Linked DNA regions of Homo sapiens: all the other regions are linked to region 3. The links are contacts of gene promoters, found by promoter capture Hi-C in human tissues and cell types (Jung and others, 2019). All regions are on one chromosome and are shown on one strand. Each heading gives the region's core, a stretch centred on a gene start or on the middle of the fragment in contact. The rest is flanking DNA. Distances are from core to core; before and after follow the strand shown. Region 1 overlaps LOC124904664 (a long non-coding RNA gene). Region 2 overlaps ZNF253 (zinc finger protein 253). Region 3 holds the start of ZNF486 (zinc finger protein 486).

Region 1 (4,071 bases), core at 783-3,282, 310 kb after region 3:
AAAGTATAGGAATAGATGGAAATAGAGATTTCTCCAAAACAGCACTGGATGAATGCATCAAAGGTCTCACACAACCTCTTCCTGGACTTGGTGATCATTGTTTGTGTCCACGTTCAATTGAGTTCAAATTTAATATTTAACTTTTCCTCCACAAATTCCCCTGTCTTGATGAATCAGCTCTGTCTAGGCAAAGGGCAAGGTGAACCCCTTGGGCCTTACACAACCTCTGCCTCCTGGGTTCAAGCGATTCTTCTGCCTCGGCCTCTGTAGTAGCTGGGACCACAGGTGTGCACCAGCATGCCCGGCTAAATTTTTGTATTTTTAGTAGAGATGGGGTTTCACCATATTGGCCAGGCTGGTCTTTAACTCCTGACCTCAAGTAGTCTGCCCACCTTGGCCTCTCAAAGTGCTGGGATTAGAGGCGTGAGCCACAGTCCCTGTCCCTAAATGCTTTCTATCTCCTATAGCAGTTTGAAATTACTTAAAGGTTGTTTCAAATTGAAAAAATAAAAGGAATGTAGATATAAGTAAAATATAAATAGTTTAAAAATTACAAGAGATTACAAAATATATATGCAAATCTCGAAAGGTCAAAAATGACAAATTTGATTTGTTTATAAGGTTTTATTAAAATTAGCTTTAGTATTGATAATACACTATTACCAAAGTAAAAGTTGATTTTCTCTTGAACAAAAATTTTACGTATTATTAATATAACAGCAAAGTACTTCCGTTCACCTTTCGAATACATTCAAAAAGAGAGAGCAAAAAAGAGATAGAATTTTCCCATGCTCTGGGGTGGGCCTGGCTCAGCTCTGGGAGAAAGCCCTGCCTGAAAAAGATGCAGCTTAGGCTGTGACTCTTTCATTGCTCAGCGCAGCATCTTATCACATCTTCTCTCACTAGGTCCTGAAGGGGCGAGGCCTTAAGCATTATCCAATCAGGGACACTGGGCTGGAAACCGTCCAATCAGACACCCAGCTGGAGCGAACAGGTCGACTTCCGAGTTTGGCGGGGCCTTTGTCTCTCACTGCACCTGGAGCTCCAGGTCTCATCTTCACTACTCTGTGTCCTCTGCTGCTGGAGGCCCAGCCCTGTGACCTGACGGTTTTGGGAGATCCACAGCTAAGACGCCAGGACCTCCTGGAAGCCTAGAAATGGTGAGTGCCGTCGGACATCACGAGAGCAGGGGAGGAACTGGTTGGAACCGGTGGGAAGTGGCTGTGGCGGGACTCAGGCCTCCCCGCAGTCAGCTCCGCAATCTGCGCCCCAAGTTCTCCTTGCCCAGCTCGGCCTCAGTCCCTTTCAGCCGTAAGATGGAGGCTGCGCTCACACCCGGGCCCCCCGGCGTCCTGTCTCTTCCCCTCGCAGTGACTGTGCCCTGGCCTGGAGCCCTCTCCGGGCAGCTCTGCACCCACAGCGCCACGTGTCTCCCAGATCGTGCAGGGACCACGGGAGGGTCCTCAGGGGAGAATCCTGACTCAGGATGCAAGTTCATGAATGGGAAGAGCTTTGGTGCTTGGTCTTCACAGTTTCCCTTTTCTCCTATTAAAAATGTATGGGCCCTTGCGCGGTGGCTCACGCCTGGAATCCTAGCACTTTGGGAGGCCGAGGCGGGCGGATCACTTGAGGTCAGGAGTTGAAGACGAGCCTGGTCAAAATGAGGAAACCCCATCTCTACTAAAAATACAAAAATTAGCTGGGTGTGATGGCGAATGTCTGTAATCCCAGCTACTTGGAAGGCAGAGGTGACAGAATCGCTTGAACCCAAGAGGCAGAGGTTGCAGGGGCTGATATCTTACCACTGCACTCCAGCCTGGGCGACAGAGCAAAACTCTGTCTAAAAAAAAAAAATATGAGAGTCGCCGCAAAAATATCAAATAATTTAATTAAAGAGTGATTCAAGAATTGTTGAGCACCCAGCTATAGTTTGTACTTTATGGTCCATGGTAGGGGCTTGAAGGAAAGACATTTATAAGGTGCATGATGAAGAAAACCATATTCAATCGTTGGTTAGGTATAGTTACGTAGTTTCTTATTTTGTACAATCGAGGTGGAAATGTCCTAGTTATGATTCAGAGCTTAATTGGCAGTTTATAGTTGTGTAAGCTTGAATTTTATTTCCCTTAATATAGTAATTTAACAAAAAGTGCAATTAATTATTTTCACACCTCACAGGGAACTGATTTTTCCCTGGCATTTTTCACATGTGTCCCAAGCAGGGCCTCAAGTGTACCCCATGTTCCTCAATTAATCATTCTTTAAAAAGCATGGCATAACACTATTGAAAATATTTGTTTTCTGTTTGTAAATATTTCCCAGGAGAAGAAAGCAAAGAATAATCCCCTGACACTGTATTGTAAAAAATATTTGTGTCTTTTTCTTTTTTCTTTTTTTTGTTTTGCTTTTTGAGACAGAGTTTTCGCTCTGTTGCCAGACTGGAGTGAGGTCCTACAGTTGTGCAGCCGCGCGATCTGGGCTCACTGCAACCTCCACCTCCCGGGTTCAAGCAATTATCCTGCCTCAGCCTCCTGAGTAGCTGGAACTACAGTCATGTGCCACCATGCCCAGCTAGAGAGGTTTCACCATGTTGGCCAGGATGGCCTGGATCTCTTGACCTCGTGATCCGCCCGCCTCTGCGTTCCAAAGTGCTGGGATTACAGGTGTGAGCCACCGTGTCTGGCGCCTCTTTTTCTTTTATTTTTCCAGAGAACTTACCGGAATGTTTTTGGGTCAAGATTACCCTTTGGAAACTTTGTAGGATGATGTGTCCTCAGCCAACCTTCAGTTTTTTTCTGGTCCTGGGTTTTAGTACTTTCTGGGAATAAACCAACATACCCACTATGGCTATGTCTGCTAGAGTGTCTAGTGACTATTATCTCTTGGGTCATTTTCTCCCATAGGACCACCTGAAGCATGGAGTGTAGACTTTCAAGGGAGCAGGTGGCAGCCTTGGGGCTGAAAGGCATCTTCTGGTGCACTTTTTTTTTTTTGAAAAGCTAACCCCTTGAGACATGAAGATTGTCTTCACTCAACCTGGCTTTCATTTCTAGGAGACACATTGCTGGTCAGTCAATCAGATGCTGGTATTGAGGGGAAAACAAATAATTTCTGTCTTCTGGATTATCTTGTGGGAGGGGCAGAAAAATAGTGAAAAAACACTCCAAAAGACAAAAAACTGACCCCAGTGAGATGGCATAAATAACTTACAAAGTAAAATGCACCTGGGGCACTCACTGGGGCATAGTGCAGTGTCTCCTGGGAGGGTGGTTATTGCGCATGTAAGTGAACAGGATGGGGTGGGTGATTGGATCTGTACCTTGAAAAGATTTGTTTACTTATTTTGACCTCAGTTTTTTTTTAGACAGTCTCCCTCTGTTGCATAGGCTGGAATGCAGTGGCTTGATCTCAGCTCACTGCAACCTCTACCTCCTGGGTTCAAGTGATTCTCCTGCCTCAGCCTCCCGTGCAGCTGGGATTACAAGCATGCAACACCAAGCCTGGGTAGGTTTTTGTATTTTTAGTAGAGATGGGGTCTCACCATGTTGGCCAGCTTGATCTTGACCTCAGGTGATCCACCTGCCTCACTCTTCCAAAGTACTGGGATTACAGGCATGAGCCATAAACACTGTATTCTACAATCCTATGAATATTAAGCCACAATACTTACTTTGAATTAATCGCTTAAATGGTTATTTTATTTATACTTTTGAAATATAAAGTGTTTTAACTGAAGTATAGTTGCAATTTTTTTTCTTTTTCTTTTTTTTTTTTTTTGAGACGGAGTCTTGCTTTTTCAGCCAGGCTGGAGTGCAGTGGCTTGATCTTGGCTCACAGCAACCTCTGCCTCCTGGCTTCAAGCGATTCTTCTGCTTCAGCCTCCCGGGTAGCTGGGATGAGAGGCGCGCTGCACCACGCCAAGGTAATTTTTTTTGTATTTTTAGTAGAGACGGGGTTTCACCATATTTGCCAGGCTGGTGTTGAACTCCTGACCTGGTGATCCACATGCTTCGGCCTAACAGAGTGCTGGGACTACAGGTGTGAGACACTGCACCTAACTGTAGTGGCAAT
Region 2 (3,720 bases), core at 1,023-3,522, 270 kb after region 3:
CCGGTGGGACTCCAGGTGGGTCCAGTTTGCAACTTTGAGAATTTACTAAATTTTCTCTCTGTGTGATTTGAACTCCACCAAGTGATTGTTTTTGTGGTACCATTATACAGTTTCTGTCTCCGACAACTAAGTCATCCTACGCGGTGAGTGAATTCTTTTCCTTCTCTAGCTATGCAATATTGTTTAATAATTGAGGCTTTTAGGATCAGAAATTATCAGGGTGATTCTTTTGAGCCAGGAATTCATCAGGTACTGTAGGTACTAATTCTCAGGCTTCCCATGGCCATTGATCTCTTATTACAGCTTCTCCACATACATAACATGAAGTGACATTGAGAGACTGGGCTACATGCTTGGCTAATTGCAAAAACAAATTTCTTGTTTTTCCTGGAATTTCTGGTACTGGCACATTTAGTTCATCATAGAAAGTTTGAAACACTGGCTCAGGAGAGTCTTTGTAAGCTTCTCGAACCAAGATATTTACTCAAGGATCCAGTCTGGCCCCGTCGATTCCTAAGGTCACATGCTCCTCTTTTTTTCTAGCGAGGATCAAGGGGATTGGTTATGACTAGCTCTAAGGGGTTACATTGTCCCTGAGTACAGGAAGGGCCATTTTTTCCTTTCTGAAGGTGGGATGGATCTTTTTCATTTTTTTTTTTAATCCAAGTGGCCTAAATGACACAAGACCAGTGTTCACATTTATTTCCACACAGTGCTAATTTATGACAGTTGTATTTATTTTCTGCCATATAGCCTCTTTTCTAATTAAGAGAACCACACCTTATTCCTAACTTATTACTATTAATGACAGCACAGGCATCAAATTTTAAGGTGACTTGTTTGGGCACCCCTTTTTCTTCTGTTTTAGCTAACACTTTACTCATATCATTTATGAGCCCCAACCAGTCCTCAGTCCTTAATCTTATTTAAAAAACTGTCCCTCCAGGGTTCAAGCAATTCTCCTGCCTCAGCCTCCAGGCATGCACGACCACGTCCAGCTAATTTTTGTATTTTTAGTAGAGACGGGGTTTCACCATATTGGCCAGGCTGATCTTGAACTCCTGACCTCAGGCAATCCACCTGCTTCATTAAATTATGCACTAAAAGTGTATAATTACACTGTTTGTAATACAAATGATAAACGCTAGAGGTGACGGATATCTTATTTACCCTAATGAAATTTCTACATATTGTATGCCTGAATCAAAATATACCATATAAGGCATAAATATATACACATACAATATACCCACAAATACTAATAATAAATTTCAGTAAGAAAAAAATAGGCAGGGTGCGGTGGCTTATGCCTGTAATCCCAGCACTTTGGGAGGCCGAGGTGGGCGAATCACTTCAGGTCAGGAGTATGGGACCAGCCTGGCCAACATGGTGAAACCCCGTCTCTACTAAAAATACAAAAATTAACCAGGCATGGTGGCGCACACCTGTAATCTGAGAACTCCCACGTTCAAGCAATTCTCTTGCCTCAGCCTCCTGAATAGCTGGGATTACAGGCATGTGCCATCATGCCCAGCTAATTTTTGTATTTTTAGTAGAGGTGGGGTTTCTCAGTGTTGGTCAGGCTGGTCTCGATCTCCTGACCTCAAGTGATCCATCTGCCTCAGCCTCCCAAAGTGCTAGGATTACAGGCATGAGCCACTGCACCCATCCCATACAACTTTATATTTAAAGAACCATAAATATTATATTAAAACCTGTCTAAACCAATAAATATACCTGGCTGTATTTTAATATTTTTAACTATAATTAATAATTTCTTTCTGTCACTATAATGTAGAAAAGCATTACTCTGAAACCCCACCTTATTTTTTATCTTTGCTTATTAATAAAATAATTCATTATGATTTTTGAAAAAAAGTTTTAAGATGTTCCGCATACATGTTAATGTAGGTTAGACCATCCAAAAGACATTCAAAGCATCAACATTAAGTCATTGGCTAGGATTATAGAAATGAGAACATGAACCCCCACCTTACACATTACTTAATATCAGTTAACTACAAAGAGCCTCTCCACTTATATTTTCATCATGCATCTTACATTTTAATGTCCTTACTCTTTTATAGAAAAGGTCATACATAATGCCCAACTAATAAAAAACAATCTCTAATATCTCTAATGCAGCAACAATTGATCACATGCTTTCACATGTGAATATAATAGGAATAAAATAGCATAAAGCAATGTGAAAGCTGTATTATATCATTATTCACTTTTCAAAAAAATTTTTTCAAGAAAACAAGTATACTTTCAATGTAATTACAGTGCTTCAAAAATCCACTTTTTAAAAAATTATATAGAAATAATTTATCTAACAGCTGTAGCTGTGGATTAGTTTTTATACTGAACATTCTGATTTAGTGTAATGTCTGAAGTGTCAGTGCCTTAATTATTCTATGGAAAATTCTCTGATATTTACATAGAATCAATTTTGAATTAAATATTTTTTGATATTTACTGCATCTGCAAAAATATATTTTGGTATAAACCCTCTGGTGTTTTCTAAGCTGTCATTTTTGGAAAAGAAAAGTCTTTCCATTCATTACATTTGCAGTACTATTCTCAATATAAATTCCCTTGATTCCCTGAAACAAAGCTTGAGCAACTGCTTCAGGGTTTTCCTCTAGTACTACATGTGTGCACTAAGATCTGTGACACAAGTAAAGGCACTACAACCCCCTTTATATTTGTAATGGCTGTCTTCAGAATAAATATTCTTCACTTTAAAGACTTCTATTTTCTGAAAGATTTTTTGACAGTAATTGCACTTTTAATGCTTTATTAACTATGAACCTTCTTCTGTTCAGTAAGATGTGAGTAGGCATTAATGGTTTTTCCATATTCTTTGTATTTGCACAATTTTTCTCAAGGATAAGAGCTTTCCTGTGAAATAAGGTATAAGCACTAATAAAATATTTTGCCACATTCTTCACACTTACAGGAGTTTTGGCAGTATGACTTCTATCACCTACAATCATGTATGACAATCATATAAAGGCTTTGTCACATTTTATACATTTCTAGGGTATTACACTAGTATAATTTATTTTTATGTATAGGAAATGTGGAGGTGTTGGTAAAAGCAATGTCGCATCTTTCAGGTTTCCAGATTTCCTCTTCAGCATGAATTATCGCCATGTCTCTTAAGAATTAAGAACTTGTAGCCAGGCATGGTGTCTCTTAAGAATTAAGAACTTGTAGCCAGGCATGGTGGCTCACGCCTGTAACCCCAGCACTTTGGAAGGCCAAGGCAGGTGGATCACCTGAGGTCAGGAGTTCGAGACCAGCCTGGCCAACATTGTGAAACCCCATCTCTACTAAAAATCCAAAAATTAGCCAGGCGTGGTGTTGGGCACCTGTAATCCCAGCTACTTGGGAGGCTGAGGCAGAAGAATGGCTTAAACCCAGGAGGCAGAGATTGCAGTGAACGGAGATCATGTCATTGCACTCCAGCCTCGGTGACAAGAGTGAAACTCCATCTCAAAAAAAAAGGAATTGAGAACTTGTTATAGGTTTATAGGTTTTGCCACATTCTTCACACTTGTAGGGCTTCTGTTTGGTATGAATTATGTGTAATAAGGGTTGAGAACTTCCTTAAAAAGCTTTGTCACATTCTTTATATTTGTAGGGTTTGTGTTCCATATAAACTCTCAAATTTACTAAGAGTCGAGGGCTGGTTAAAGGCTTTCCCACATTCAT
Region 3 (4,306 bases), core at 1,095-3,594:
TCTTAACTACCTGTGGGGCTCCAGCTTTCCAGGGCTCCGTAGCTTCTCTCAGGATAAAGGCTCCTTCCATGGGTGGGGTGAGCAGGCTGGGACATCTGCAGGCGAGGCTCCCCAGAAAAAACTAACTAGGCCTTTAATAACCTCCTGTTGGCCGGGCGCGGTGGCGCAAGCATGTAATCCCAGCACTTTGGGAGGCCAAGGCGGATGGATCACCTGAGGTTGGGAGTTAGAGACCAGCCTGACCAACATGGAGAAACCCCTAGTAAACACACATAATTAGCCGGGCGTGACGGCGCGTGCCTGCAATCCCAGTAACTCCAGAGGCTGAGGTAGGAAAATCCCTTGAACCCAGGAGGTAGAGGATGCGGTGAGCCGAGATCATACCATTGCACTCCAGACTGGGTAATAAGAGCTAAACTCCATGTCAAAATAAAAAAAATGTAGTAACCCCACCACTTCGGGAGGCTGAGGTAGGCGGATCACAAGGTCAGGAGTTCGACACCAGCCTGGCCAATATGGTGAAACCCCGTCTCTGCTAAAAATACAAAAATTAGCCGGGCGTGGTGGCGAGTGCCTGTAGTCCCAGCTACTTGGGAGGCTGAGGCAGGAGAACTGCTTGAACCCCGGAGGCGGAGGTTGCAGTGAGCCGAGATCGCGCCACTGCACTCCAGCCTGGGCCACAAAGCAAGACTGTCTCAAAAAAAAAAAATTTTTTTTAACCCCCTCCTTTTGCAGACTTCATATTAGCCTTAGCTTGGAATTACTAGGTTCAAGCTTTAATTTCCATGTCAGTGTTATTCACTTGGTTTTTGAAACTAAGTGTTTGAAAAATCCAGTGAAATTACTCAAACAGTGTTTACATAAAGGAAGAAAATTTTAAGATTCTTACTTTTTTTTTTTTTTGAGACGGAGTTTCGCTGTTGTTGCCCAGGCTGGAGTGCAATGGCACGATCTCGGCTCACCGCAACCTCCTCCTCCCGGGTTCAAGCAACTCTCCTGCCTCAGCCTCCCGAGTAGCTGGGATTACAGGCATGCGCCACCAAGCCCAGCTAATTTTGTATTTTTAATAGAGACAGGGTTTCTCCATGTTAGTCAGGCCGGTCTCGAACTCCCGAACTCAGGTGATCCGCCTGCCTTGGCCTCCCAAAGTGCTGGGATTACAGGCGTGAGCCACTGCGCCTGGCCCTTCTTTTGTGTGTGTGAAGGAGTCTTGCTCTGTCACGCACACTTAAGTACGATGGCGCGGTCTCAGCTCACTGCAACCTCCGCCTCCTGGGTTCAACCAATTCTCGTGCCTCAGCCTCCCAAGTAGCTGGGATTACAGGTGCCTGCCACCACACCTGGCTAATTTTTGTATTTTTAGTAGAGACGGGGTTCACGGTGTTGGCCAGGATGGTCTAGAACTCCTGACCACAAGATCCTCCCGCCTAGGTCTCTCAAAATGCTGGGATTACAGGCGTGAGCCACCGCGCCCGACCAGGAATGGGTTTTTAACCCCAACGTAGTTTTTGTTTTTGTGTCCTTCCCCTATTGGCTGGGGTCAGACCGCACAATCTAAGCTGATCCCGGTTGGCTTAGACCCAAACTTTTTCCAAATAGGATAAACGAGCGATTTGCGAGAAAAGGAAAAGGGAGAAAAAGGGGTAGGGTTGTTTTACAACTTTTACAACTTCTGATCAGGAAGTTGAGTCTTTGAAGAGGAATTTAGTTGTCCTAGCAACCCTTTACCTCAAGTGATCCGCCAGCCTTCGCCTCCCAAAATGCTGGGATTACAGACGTCAACCACCGCGCCCGGCCCCATAAATTTTTAACAAAAGAAAAGAGAAACTGTGAACCCCACGGACCAAAGCTCTTCCGAATCGTGAACCCGCACCCCGAGTCAAGATTCTCCCCTGATGACCTTCTCGTGGTTCCCGCACCATCTGGGAGAGACCCGAAGCTGCGGGTGGAGAGCTGCTGCACAGAGAGGGCGCCAGGCCAGGGCACGGTCACTGCGCAGGGAAGAGACAGGACGCCCCGGGACCGGCTGTCAGCGCAGCCACCATCTTATGGCTGAAGGGGACTGAGGCCGAGCTGGGTAAGGAGAAGTCCGGACGCAGATTGTGGAGCTGACTACGGGGAGGCCTGAGTCCCTCCACAGCCACTTCCCATCAACCAGTCCCTCCCCTCTCTCAGGATGTCCAATGGGCACTCTCACCATTTCTAGGCTTCTAAGGGGTCCCGGCATCTTGGCTGTGGATCTCCCAATACCTACAGGACACAGGGCCACAGAGGGTGGGCCTCTAGGAGCAGAGGACACAGAGTAGCGAAGAGGCGACCTAGAGCTCCAGATGCAGCGAGAGACAAAGGCCGCGCCAAACCCGGAAGCCGTCCTCTTTGCTCCAGCTGCCTGCCTGATTGGACGGTTTCCAGCCCAGCGTCTCTGATTGGATAATGCTTAAGGCCCCGCCCACTCAGTCCCTGAGTGACAGAGGATGTGATCAGATGCTGGGCTGAGTGATGAAAGAGTAACAGCCTAAGCTGCAGCCTTTTCAGGCAGGGCTTCCTCCCTGAGCTGAGCCAGGCCCACCCTAGAGCAAGGGAAAATTCTATCTCTTTTTTACTCTCTCTCTTTTTGCATGTATTCAAAAGGTGAACAGAAGTATTTTGCTGTCATATTAATAATACATAAAATTTTTGTTAGAAAATCAACTTTTACTTTGGTAATAGTGTATTATCAATACTAAAGCTAATTTTAATAAAACCTTATATATAAATCAGATTTGTCACTTTTGACCTCTCGAGATTTACACATATATTTCATAATCACTTGTAATTTTTTTAACTTTTTATATTTTATCTACATTCTTTTTTTCAATTTGAAACAACCTTTAAGTAATTTCAAATTGTTACAGGAAATAGAAATCATTTAGAACCAGGCGCAGTGGCTCACGCCTCTAATTCCAGCACTTTGGGAGGCCAAGGTGGGCGGATAACTTGAGTCAGGAGTTCAAGACCAGCCTGGCCAACATGGTGAAACCCCATTTCTACTAAAAATACAAAAAATTATCTGGGTGTGCTGGTGTGCACTTGTAGTCCCAGCTACTCCGGAGGCTGAGGCAAGAGAATCGCTTGAACCCAGGAGGCGGAGGTTGTGTAACAGCCCAAGGGTTTTACCTTGCCTTTTGTCTAGACAGAGCTGATTCATAAAGACAGGCCTTTTGCCTAGACAGAGCCCATTCATCAAGACAGGGGAATTTGTGGAGGAAAAGTTAAATATTAATTTTGAAATAAATTGAACACAGACACAAACAATGGTCACCAAGTCTCAGAACCGGTTGTGTGACCCCCTTGAGGCATTCATTGAGGCATTCATGTAGTGTCATTTCAGAGAAATCTCTGTTTCAATCTATTCCTATATGTTAGTTATTGAAAAACAAGATAACGTTTTTGTGTTCCTTGAGCCCAGTCGCAAAGGGCCCTAGTGACTGGGCCTCATGCCAAACATTTCAGCTCCATCAGGTCATTTATGTTCCTCTCCAAACTGTTTATTCTAGTTAGCAGTTCCTCTAACCTTTTATCAAGGTTCTTAGCTTCTTCAAATTGGGTTCGAACATGTTTCTTTAGCTCAGCAGAGTTTGTTATTAACCATCTTCTGAGGCCTACTTCTGTGAATTCATGCATCTCATCCTCTTATGTTCCTCTCCAAACTGGTTATTCTAGTTAGCAGTTCCTCTAACCTTTTATCAAGGTTCTTAGCTTCTTCAAATTGGGTTCAAACATGTTTCTTTAGCTCAGCAGAGTTTGTTATTAACCGTCTTCTGAAGCCTACTTCTGTGAATTCATGCATCTCATCCTCTTATGTTCCTCTCCAAACTGGTTATTCTAGTTAACAGTTCCTCTAACCTTTTATCGAGGTTCTTAGCTTCTTCAAATTGGGTTTGAACATGTTTCTTTAGCTCAGCAGAGTTTGTTATTAACCATCTTCTGAAGCCTACTTCTATCAATTCATGCATCTCATCTTCTGTCCAGTTCTGCACCTTGCTGAAGAGACATTTTGATCATTTGGAAGAGAAGAGGCACTCTGGCCTTTCAGCTGTTTTTTGTTGATTCTTTCTCATCTTCATGAGTTTGTCTAGTTTCGATCTTTGAGGCTTCTGACACTTGGATTTTTTTTTTTTAACAGTCTCTCTCTCTGTCACTCAGGCTGGAGTGCAGTGGCACAATCGCAGCTCACTGCAAATTCTGCCTCCCAGGTTCAAGTGATTCTCATGTCTCAGACTACCTAGTAGCTGGGACTACAGGCATGCACCACCACGCCTGGCTA

The links. Contacts are between HindIII fragments. The study calls those that stand out against the background at their distance.
Region 1: a contact is called between a fragment that was not itself captured here and the fragment with the promoter of ZNF486 in region 3, in 1 of the 25 tissues and cell types used here (aorta).
Region 2: a fragment that was not itself captured here is called in contact with the fragment with the promoter of ZNF486 in region 3 in 1 of the 25 tissues and cell types used here (mesenchymal stem cells).

Annotation. Positions count from the first base shown.
Region 1 is chr19:19,858,152-19,862,222 of GRCh38, reverse strand. It overlaps LOC124904664 (a long non-coding RNA gene), which reads left to right. Exons shown (of 4, transcript XR_007067169.1): 3 at 907-1,160; 4 at 2,904-3,403. Among named protein-coding and RNA genes, the nearest start is that of ZNF253, 5.7 kb to the left of the region's middle. RefSeq lists an enhancer at 784-1,334. The HindIII fragment of the contact is 6,030 bases long and covers 1-4,071 here.
Region 2 is chr19:19,892,778-19,896,497 of GRCh38, reverse strand. It overlaps ZNF253 (zinc finger protein 253), which reads right to left. Exons shown (of 4, transcript NM_021047.3): 4 at 1,824-3,720. Among named protein-coding and RNA genes, the nearest start is that of ZNF93, 6.3 kb to the left of the region's middle. The HindIII fragment of the contact is 4,796 bases long and covers 1-3,720 here.
Region 3 is chr19:20,165,252-20,169,557 of GRCh38, reverse strand. ZNF486 (zinc finger protein 486) reads right to left here and starts at 2,344. Exons shown (of 4, transcript NM_052852.4): 1 at 2,198-2,344. The coding sequence starts at 2,227. The region is part of intron 5 of LOC105372310 (a long non-coding RNA gene); the gene reads left to right. RefSeq lists an enhancer at 821-1,762. The HindIII fragment of the contact is 10,632 bases long and covers 1-4,306 here.